Regions from separate parts of the Homo sapiens genome. Here regions 2 and 3 are each linked to region 1. The links are contacts of gene promoters, found by promoter capture Hi-C in human tissues and cell types (Jung and others, 2019). All regions are on one chromosome and are shown on one strand. Each heading gives the region's core, a stretch centred on a gene start or on the middle of the fragment in contact. The rest is flanking DNA. Distances are from core to core; before and after follow the strand shown.

Region 1 (3,292 bases), core at 335-2,834:
AATCAAGACTTTACACAGGAGGTGAGGTTTGCGAGATAGAAAAAGGTATTTCAGTTTATCCAGGAAGTTAGCACGATGGCCCAGCAAGGAACAGCAGTGGTGTGGAAAAACGGAGGGCGAGGCCCGAAGGAAGCGAGGAAGTGAAGCCCGGCAGGAGTGCTGGGTTGTGGTGCTGAAAAGTAGGCTAGCACTGGGCAGCCGAAGACAGCAGCGAGGCAAAGGAAGAGTTGTTCCCTCCCCTCCAGGACCGGTGATGGGAAGCGGGGTGGAGGTTGGGGTGGATGTCTAAAAGAAACGAGGAACAGCCGGGCAACGGAAAGTAGTTGCTTTGGAGAACGTGGTTGAGGCTGGAAGCAGGAGTTGATGGGTAAAAGGATGAGGAGAGCTCATACCTGTAGTTCTTTTCATTTCCATGTACGACGCAAATTACCGAGCTCCAAAAAGGAGATGAGCCCAAAACCTTAACAATCAGAGGCTAAAAATGGACTAATCAGTGAGGTGTAAGCCAAGAAGTTAATGAGGTAGGAGGCACAACACGGTCGAGAGTTATAAGACAAACCCAGGTTATTACTTGGGTCCTCGAGGATCCAATTAACTTCTCATTAAGTGGGGCTGGGTGCTCGGCTTCTCAACTGGCGCCAGCCTCCCAGCCCCCAGCCAACGCCTGGAATGAGACTCCAGGGAAATTCGGCCAGCTGGTGGATCTTCAGCGAGATGAAGGCAGTGGCGTGGACAGGCCATTCACGGCGATACCCACCCAACTCTGTCCAGGCCTTAAGCAGAAGGCTGGGAGCAGCACAGCACATCAATGGCAGCCACAACGCCTTCCTTTCCCTTTCCCTTTCCCTGCCTATCACGCAAACACTCCCCTACTAAAGTGTATCCTCCGTGAGAACAGGGCTCCGTCCTTCTTCACGGGATGCGCGGAGCCTAGAAGGGCGCCCGGCCACGGCGACCCCCAAGTACTGGCTGAATAGTGAATGAACTCCGCTTGGCCGCACTTCAGTCTATCTGGGCACTGAAAGATGCGACCCGTGGAGCCGCCTAAGAGAGCACAGGGGGAAGAGAAGAAGCGGAAGCCTCCGGAGGTCCCATCGAGGCGGCCTGCGGGACCTGAGCGCCGGGCTCCGTAGCGCGGTCGGGAGGGGGCTTCTGGTCCCAGGCCCAAGACCGACCGCTTTGCAACTGACCTTCCGGCGGGGGCGCCCGCGCGGGGCACAGCAGCCAGGCTCCGGCGTCCCGCTCCCGCCGCCCCCCGGCGGCGCCCGGCGACCGCTGCGCACGTAGGTCACCTGCCTCCTGCTGGCGCCGCGCGGCTGGCCCGGCGCGGGCGGCAGGTGCGGCCCAGGTGGCCGCCAGGCCGGGCCCGGCGGGGCGCTGCGGGTGGGGGACCCGGGCCCGGCGCGCCGCAGCTCTGCGCAGAGCCGCAGGCCGAACAACAGCACAGCCCCGAGTAGACACCGGCGCAGGACGCCGCAGCCCCTCCCGGGCGGCCTCTCCCGGGCCATGGCGCTACACTCGGGGTCCCGCGGGCCGCGCCTGGCCGGCAGCAGGGATGTAGCCCCACAGGCCGGAGCGGCCAACTGTGGGAACTCCCCCGCGGGCCGGGGTGCGGGCTCGGACCCGCCTCCCTCCCTCCCGACCGAGGAAGCCCCGGCGTAACCTTATCCTGCCCTGCCGAGCGCGCCCCGCCGCTGGAACGGTGGTGGGCCGAACGCGGTCACAGGGGGCCCTCTCCGCCCCTCCGGAGGTGCCAGGGCCCGGCTGTACAGGGTCCCTCAAGAGGTGCCCTCCGCCCCGGCCTCCAAAGCCTGACGGAGCTGAAAGACATAGGGCCAGAAAAAGCGCATTCCTAACGGGATCCCGGGCCATAACTTCATTTTCTGGTATTAGTGTTGTTGGAGAAACACAGGAGGAGGGTAGGTGAGCATACAAGGAACAGTCAAGCAGTTTGCACCATTAAGCACAATATAAAAATAAATAGCACTTATGCCCGGGCTTACAACTTCTCTCTCTCTCTCAAGAAAGAAAGGGATTGGGGGGCGAAGAGAATAGCACTCAATGCAGAATAATCAAATTAGAGTTATTCTATGTCTAAATTCTGCCTGAAGCCAATTCGTGCTTTCTTTCCGTGTTATGAAATGTGTGGGGGTGAAGAAGAAGAGGGAAAAAGCCAGCTAAGACATCTGACAGCGGGTTGGTGAGGAGGGGGGAGAGAGAACAGAAGTTACCATGGCATGATGTAAATCAAATTAATTTAGCTCCAAACACACACCTCCCTGCTGTCTCGCAGAAATACAGAGGGACAAATTTATCTTTCGGCAAAATGCTCCCCAGCTGGTATTTCCATCACCACCTTGACCTTAATTAATCAGACTGAACTCTCACAGCCTGAAGTCCAGTGGTGGATGTTCCATTTTCAATTGTTAGTAGAATCCTTTCCCACAACCCATTTGGGGTGGGTTTGGGTTTTAGGTTTGAGTTTGGGTTTAGATTTTTTTAAGCTGTAGTCACTTTTCTTTTTTTCCTTGCTTTACTCTTGCATTTTCCATGCTTCCATGGGAGACTGCGCCTGTAGACCTATCCTCTTCCCCCGTAACAGCCTACAGCATGGACAAGAGAGAACAAATATGGGGCCCTACCCCCCTGCCCTTTTGAATGTTGGGTATTTTCCGTAGGAAGCCCTCGTCTCTAAAATCCTCTTCTCTTCCTGGCTTAAGAAAGACCCAATTTATTCCCTGCTAGTGAACAAAGCACTTGGGCTGTTTCTCTACATGTAACAAAATATCTCCACCCAGTCTAGTCCACCCCCTGGCCACACCAGATCCTCAGGCTCCTGAACGTTCCATTAGGATTGACTTTTGCTTTTTTCTTAGATGAGTCCAGGGGATATTGCAGATGGGTTCTATTTTAACAAATTTAAACAAGTACGAGTTTTTCCTTACACAAACTGAGAGCCAGCCTCACATCCTGTGACTATTTACTTGAACTGTGTTTGAACCAGGACCCTGCCGTTCAAGCACTATGAGACTTTCAACGAAGTACTGGACCTCTCTGAGTTTCCGTTTTCCCATGAATAAACAGATCTATATATATGGCAGGATTATAAATGTTGCATAAAATATTATATGTTTCATGCCCAAATAATACTGGCTCACAGAAGGGTCTCAATAGTAATTATTTTGTTATTTACCATGGAAGAAAATCCTGGATGTTGTCATGAAAAACAAAAGGTAAGCATTGATTCCAAAGTGGGCAAAGATAAAGTATAAGGAAATTTACAAATAATTTA
Region 2 (3,465 bases), core at 312-2,811, 180 kb before region 1:
TCAGTGCCACTATTCAAAATAGCAAAGATATGGAATCAACCTAAGTGTCCATCAATGGATAATTAAAGAAAATTTAAATGCAAACAATGAAATACTACTCAGCCATTAAAAAGAATGAAATAATCTCTTTTGCAGCAACATGGATGGAACCAGAGGCCATTATCCTAAGTGAACTAACTCAGAAACAGAAAGTCAAATACCATATTTTCTCATTTATAAGTGGGAGCTAAATAATTTGTATACATGGACATAAAGAGTGGAATAATAGATAATGGAGACTCTGAAGAGTGGAAGGATAGATGGTGGGTGAGGGGTGAGAAATTACTTAATGGGTACAATGTACACTATACTAAAAAGCCAGGCTTTGCCACTATGCAATATATCCATGTAACTAAACTGTACGTGTACCCTCTAAATCTATAAAAATAATTTTAAGAAGTGAGTGCTAGTCTTCATCCTCGACTAAAATATAAAATGCTTCACTGTTCCTCCCTTTTCGTTTAACCCTTTCACAATTCTCTGGCATAACCTGTAGCACATGCATGTTATAAAAATTTAGCAAATTTAACAAATTTAGCAAGATGTCCCTATTAAAACAACTAGAAAACAAACTTACTTTTGTAGCATAAGGTGAAAACATAACACACTTGACTTTTTTGGTAAAGGAATCAAACAAGTTATTCCATGCCCTGACACATAAGCTTTTCTTCTTTTCAAATAAGTTAGTCAATGTAACTTTATTGGAGTAGACCTGGCTAGGTTAGGAATAAAGAATGGCTACATGCTGGACTAACTACTATCAAGCACACCAAATTAAAAAAACAAAAAAACAAAAAAACTTTGCTGTCATCATCATCCAACAGATGTCATCACACCCAAAACCCACCTACTTAGAATTTCTTTAGGACCTTTAGTTTAAGAAATGGTACCTTTGCAGCATAAGGGAGTAGGAAAAAAATGGGACTTTGAAATCACACATATCTGTGCTCAAATTCCACCTCCATTTCTATTAGCCATGTGACCTTGAGCAAATTACTTGATCTATGAGAGGACTCAGTTTGCTGGTTGACAAGTACCACAAATACAATTCTAACAGTTTACGCAAAAAGGAGGACTTATGACAAAGGTAACTAGGATGTCTCTGGAACCCAATCTCAGGACCATGGACAAAGGAACTCAAATACAGTCAGGACTCTGTGCATCTGCTTCTTTGCACTCTTTGTTCTAGAAGCCCTGGCTTATCTAGCCCACAGGGCAAGAAACAAGGCCATTAACAGTTCCAGAGTTTTGTATCTCACAGCTTCAGCAACTGAAGAGAAAACAAATTATTCAACCTCTGGGCATGGAGGACCCAGGAAAAGTTCTGAGTGACTTGGCTTAGTAAAAAAGTGTCTAAAACCAGGCCAATAAACCACAGAAATGAACAGAATTGTGATTGGTATCTCTGGCCCCTTCCAAGCCAAAGTGATCTTTACAAAAGACAGATCTGATCCAGTAATTAACCCGATTAAAACTCTTCATGGCCTTCCCCAATAGACTTAAAATCCTTAACCTCGTTAAACCAAACCTCACGTAGGCCCTCTGCATAGTCTGGCTTCTGTTTACCTCTGCAACCTCATATCAAGTCACAATCCCTCTTACACTAAGCTTTAACTGTTTCACCTGTTCTTTGAATTCTCTTCCTTTTCCACCTAGCTAACTTCCACTAATCTTGCCTCTAAGAAGCCTCCCCTGACTCCCAGTGTAAATCCAGTTCCCTCTTCTTTTCCTTTACAGCATTCACCAAAATTTCTAAGTACAAATGTATTTGTTCAACACCTGTTTTTTACTATACTGTTAACTCCAAGAGAATAGAGACCTGTCCTTTTTAGCACCTACTTGGCCCTCAATAATTATGTGCTGATTATGAACTATGAATCACTGGTTTAACAAGGGGGACCCACTAAATGAACCAATTACAAATGAGGGGACAGTAGCAGGCAGGCAGAATTGTTATTATCAAGTTATTAAAATGACTGCTCCAACAGAAACTTATCAGTAAAAGGGGAGATAAAGCAGTTCTGAAACAATCTGGGCTTCCGCTAGGCAGAACAAACAACTTGTTCAATTCAGTTAACCTTTTTCTTCAATTAAATCCTTATAGGGCTATGATAGCAATTAAACAAGATAAATAATAAATGTGACAGCATCTATACAGAATCTTGTACATCTAGCAAGCAAGCAATGTCACTTCTTTTCCTTTTGGACCATGTTACACATTATTTTTGAATATCACTGATCTCCAAATAATTATTAAATACTCCAATGCATATGACAAAAATAGCTGTTTCATGACCTCTTCCCTCACAGCACCCTGATCTTTCCACATGGAACAGAATGACTTCTCTTTTATTCTGTAGTAATTGCATACACTCAAAATCCATTTAGCTTAAACCAAAAACAGGCACTGGGAACACAAAAATGAAGCAAAGCAAAACAAAACAACCAAACGCTTACAACAAAACTGTCCTCAAGGAGTTCACAGATTCACTTTCTCAATCTGCCTTCAGCTCCATCACATCCATACCAAAGCTCCATAGCACCCCAGGTAAGGCTGCTACAAATACAAGATGCCCCGTATTTTATGGGGCAATAATCCATCTTTATATCTTCATACTCCCACTTCATGACCTCATTCCAAAATTTTTTCCTTAAAAAAATTCTATGGAGACTGACTGGATATGATCTTTCTTCAAAGTATGAATAAAATCTACCCTGACTTTACCAATAGCTCAAAATAAGGAAACAAAGGAAACAATCCAAAAGAAAAATCCTGTTTCTTGACAGTGCTGGGAGTTTATTTTTAAAAATTAAAACAAACAAAAAACCCATCACAAAAATAACGCCTTTAAGAGACTAAAAAATCTTGCTTCTGAGAACAGGCACGTGTGAAAGGATCAAGACTACTTTCTTTTTCAGAGGTAGGTCCAGAAAGAAGAAATGTCCTCATAAGAGGGACGTAAGCGGTAACTTTAGGGAAAATGAACTCTCAGGAAAAAAAGGGGGTTACACCAAGCTTCGAAGTATCTTAGAATTTTATTTGTAGCTAAAACAGATCTCCGAAGTCATCTACTTCTACCTTTTCATTTTATAATCAAACATCTTGAGAAGTAAAGTCACGCAGAAGACTGCATTTCCTTCTAATTTTTGTCATGCCCTAACTTCTTGTCCCAGATAATGTAAGCCTATGCCACTCACTGAACTGAGAAACAGCCTCCTCTTCAAGTCCACTGGGTGAAAGAGAACAAGTTCCTAATAATGTTGTCATGTCTAACACAAGAGTTACAGATCCTAGCATTTCAGGGTACATCTGAAACTTATTTTTCCCATAGAAAGACTGTCATACAAATTATTATAGGTATTTTAATATACTTATGCTAATTATTAACATAATTTTATAATTTCTTTAGTATTAACATAATCCTA
Region 3 (3,660 bases), core at 320-2,819, 240 kb before region 1:
ACTGCCCTTATCTATAAAGCTGCTAACCTCAAACCTTGAAGGAAAAAGAAGGCCAAAAGAAGAAGGCAAGACAACAAGAAGGCATGGACAATGAGAATCCTTTTTCTGGATTGGTCCCATTGACGCTTTGTCCCTGAAGTCAGGAAGTACCTTGCCAGTAAGGGAATGTCTTTTAAAATTCTTGTGATAACTGTACAACATCTCTGGCCACTCAGAACCCCATTAGTTTCACACTGAAGGTGTCAAAGTGGTCCACTTGCCCGCAAACATGACAGCTCTAATTCAGGCTCTAGATCATAAGGACATTTAAGACTCATTACACATGGTATTCTGTGGAAGACTGTCAACACTATGGAAGAGAATCCCAACAGAGAACATCATGAAAGTTTGGAGGGATTATACCATCAAAGATGTCATAGTTATTATTGAAAAAGCCAAGAAAACCATCAAGCTCAAGAAAACAAATTCATAAAATTTGAGAAAACTGTGTCCAGATGTTTTGCATGACCTCACAGGGTTTTTAACAGTGCCAGTCAAGGAAATAATGAAATAGACAGTGGATACAGAAAAAAGGGTGGGGATGAAGCGTGGCAAGGTATGGATCTTGGAGAAATTCAAAACCCAATTAGACAGCACACCAGAGGAATTAACAGAAGATGACTTGATGGAGAAGAGTGCCTCCAAACCAGTACCAGACAATGAGAAAGAAGACATAGAAGAGGGGGTCACTTCCAAGACGGCTGAATAGGAACAGCTCCGGTCTGCAGCTCCCAGCGAAACTGATGCAGAAGACGGGTGATTTCTGCATTTCCAACTGAGGTACCTGGTTCATCTCATTAGGACTGGTTGGACAGTGGGTGCAGCCCACAGAGGGCAAGCTGAAGCAGGGCGAGGCATTGCCTCACCCAGGAAGTACAAGGGGTCAGGGGATTTCCCTTTCCTAGCCAAGGGAAGCTGTGACAGACTCTACCTGGAGAAACAGTACACTCCTGATCAAATACTATATGCTTTTCCCACAGTCTTAGCAACCAGCAGACCAGGAGATACCCTCCCATGCCTGGCTCGGCGGGTCCCACGCCCACAGAGCCTTGATCACTGCTAGTGCGGCAGTCTGAGATCAACCTGTGACGCTGCAGCTTGACGGGGGAGGGGTGTCCACCATTGCTGAGGCTTGAGTAGCTCAAAGTGTAAACAAAGAGGCCGGTAAGCTTGAACTGCTCAGTAAGGTCTATTCCCTCTATAAATTCCACCTCTTGGGGAAGGACGTAGTAGAACAAAAAGCAGCAGACAGCTTCTGCAGACTTAAACATCCTTGTCTGACAGCTCTGAAGAGAGCAGTGGTTCTCTCAGCACAGCGTCTGAACTCCGAGAACGGACAGACTGCCTCCTCAAGTGGGTCCCTGACCCCCGTGTAGCCTGACTGGGGAACACCTCCCAGTAGGGGCCAACAGACACCTCAAACAGGTGGGTGCCCCTCTGGGATGAAGCTTCCAGAGGAAGGATCAGGCAGCAATATTTGCTGTTCTGCAGCCTCTGGTGGTGATACCCAGGCAAACAGGGTCTGGAGTGGACCTCAAGCAAACTCCAACAGACCTGTAGCTGAGGGGTCTGACTGTTAGAAGGAAAACTAACAAACAGAAGGGACATCCACACCAAAACCCCCTCTGTAGGTCACCAACATCGAAGACCAAAGGTAGATAAAACCACAAAGATGGGGAGAAACCAGAGCAGAAAAGCTGAAAATTCGAAAAAAAAAACAAAGCGCCTCTTCTCGTCCAAAGGATTGCAGCTCCTTGCCAGCAAGGGAAAAAAACTGGATGGAAAATGAGTTTGATGAGTTGATAGAAGTAGGCTTCACAAGGTTGGTAATAACAAACTTCTCTGAGCTAAAGGAGCATGTTCTAACCAATTGCAAGGAAGCTAAAAACCTTGAAAAAAGCTTAGATAAATGGCTAACTAGAATAAAATGTAGAGAAGACCTTAAATGACCTGATGGAGCTGAAAACCATGGCACAAAAACTTTGTGACGCATGCACAAGCTTCAATAGCTGATTTGATCAAGTGGAAGAAAGAATATCAGTGATTGAAGATCAAATTAATGAAATAAAACGAGAAGAAAAGATCAGATAAAAAAAGAGTGAAAAGAAACAAACAAAGCCTCCAAGAAATATAGGACTATATGAAAAGGCCAAATATATGTTTGACTGGTGTACCAGAAAGTGATGGGGAAAATGGAACCAAGTTAGAAAACATTCGTCAGGATATTATCTAGGAGAACTTCCCTAACCTAGCAAGGAAGGCCAGCATTCAAATTCAGGAAATACAGATAACACCACAAAGATATTCCTCAAGAAGAGCAACCCCAAGACACATAATTGTCAGATTCACCAAGGTTGAAATGAAGGAAAAAATGTTAAGGGCAGCCACAGAGAAAGGTCGGGTTACCTACAAAGGGAAGCCCATCAGACTAACAGCGGATCTCTCGGCAGAAACCCTACAAGCCAGAAGAGAGTGGGGGCCAATATTCAACATTCTTAAAGAAAAGAATTTTCAACCCAGAATCTCATATCCAGCCAAACTAAGCTTCATAAGCCAAGGAGAAATAAAATCCTTTACAGACAAGCAAATGCTGAGAGATTTTGTCACCACAAGGCCTGCCTTACAAGAACTCCTGAAGGAAGCACTAAACATGGAAAGCAACAACCGGTACCAGCCACTGCAAAACATGCCAAATGGTAAAGAACATCGATGCTAGGAAGAAACTGCATCAATTAACAGGCAAAATAACCAGCTAACATGATAATGACAGGATCAAAATAAAACATAACAATATTAACCTTAAATGTAAATGGGCTAAATGCTCCAATTAAAAGACACAGACTGGCAAATTGGATAAAGAGTCAAGACCCATCAGTGTGCTGTATTCAGGAAACCCATCTCACATGCTCACATGCAAAGATGCACATAGGCTCCAAATAAAGGGAAAGAGGAAGATCTACCAAGCAAACGGAAAGCAAAAAAAAAAAAAAAAAAAAAAAAAAAAAAAGCAGGGTTTGCAATCCTAGTCTCTGATAAAACAGACTTTAAACCAACAAAGATCAAAAGAGACAAAGGCAGCTACTACATAATGGTAAAGGGATCAATTCAACAAGAAGAGCTGACTATCCTAAATATATATGCACCCAATACAGGAACACCCAGATTCATAAAGCAAGTCCTTAGAGACCTACAAAGAAACTTAGACTTCTGCACAATAATAACGGGAGACTTTAACACCCCACTGTCAATATTAGACACATCAAAGAGACAGAAGGTTAACAAAGATATCCAGGACTTGAACTCAGCTCTGGACCAAGCAGACCTAATAGACATCTACAGAACTCCACACCCCAAATCAATAGAATATACATTCTTCTCAGCATCACATCACACTTATTTTAAAACTGACCACATAATTGTAGTAAAACACTCCTCAGCAAATGTAAAAGAACAGAAATCACAACGAACTGTCCCTCAGATCACAGTGCAATTGAATTAGAACTCAGGATTAAGAAACTCACTCAAAACCGCACAACTACATGGAAACTGAACAACCTGCTCCTGAATGACTAATGGGTAAATAACAAAATGAAGGCAGAAATAAAGATGTTCTTTGAAACC

The links. The method cuts DNA at HindIII sites, captures the fragments that hold promoters and counts their contacts. A contact is called where the count stands out against the background at its distance.
Region 2: a contact is called between a fragment that was not itself captured here and the fragment with the promoter of METTL24 in region 1, in 3 of the 25 tissues and cell types used here (H1 embryonic stem cells, dorsolateral prefrontal cortex and thymus).
Region 3: a contact is called between a fragment that was not itself captured here and the fragment with the promoter of METTL24 in region 1, in 2 of the 25 tissues and cell types used here (dorsolateral prefrontal cortex and hippocampus).

What each region holds. Positions count from the first base shown.
Region 1 is chr6:110,356,765-110,360,056 of GRCh38, forward strand. METTL24 (methyltransferase like 24) reads right to left here and starts at 1,585. Exons shown (of 5, transcript NM_001123364.3): 1 at 1,191-1,585. The coding sequence starts at 1,508. The HindIII fragment of the contact is 11,777 bases long and covers 1-3,292 here.
Region 2 is chr6:110,172,497-110,175,961 of GRCh38, forward strand. The region is part of intron 2 of WASF1 (WASP family member 1); the gene reads right to left. Among named protein-coding and RNA genes, the nearest start is that of WASF1, 5.4 kb to the right of the region's middle. The HindIII fragment of the contact is 5,240 bases long and covers 1-3,465 here.
Region 3 is chr6:110,115,333-110,118,992 of GRCh38, forward strand. The region is part of intron 4 of WASF1 (WASP family member 1); the gene reads right to left. Among named protein-coding and RNA genes, the nearest start is that of WASF1, 63 kb to the right of the region's middle. RefSeq lists enhancers at 614-1,159, 1,160-1,703. The HindIII fragment of the contact is 3,943 bases long and covers 1-3,541 here.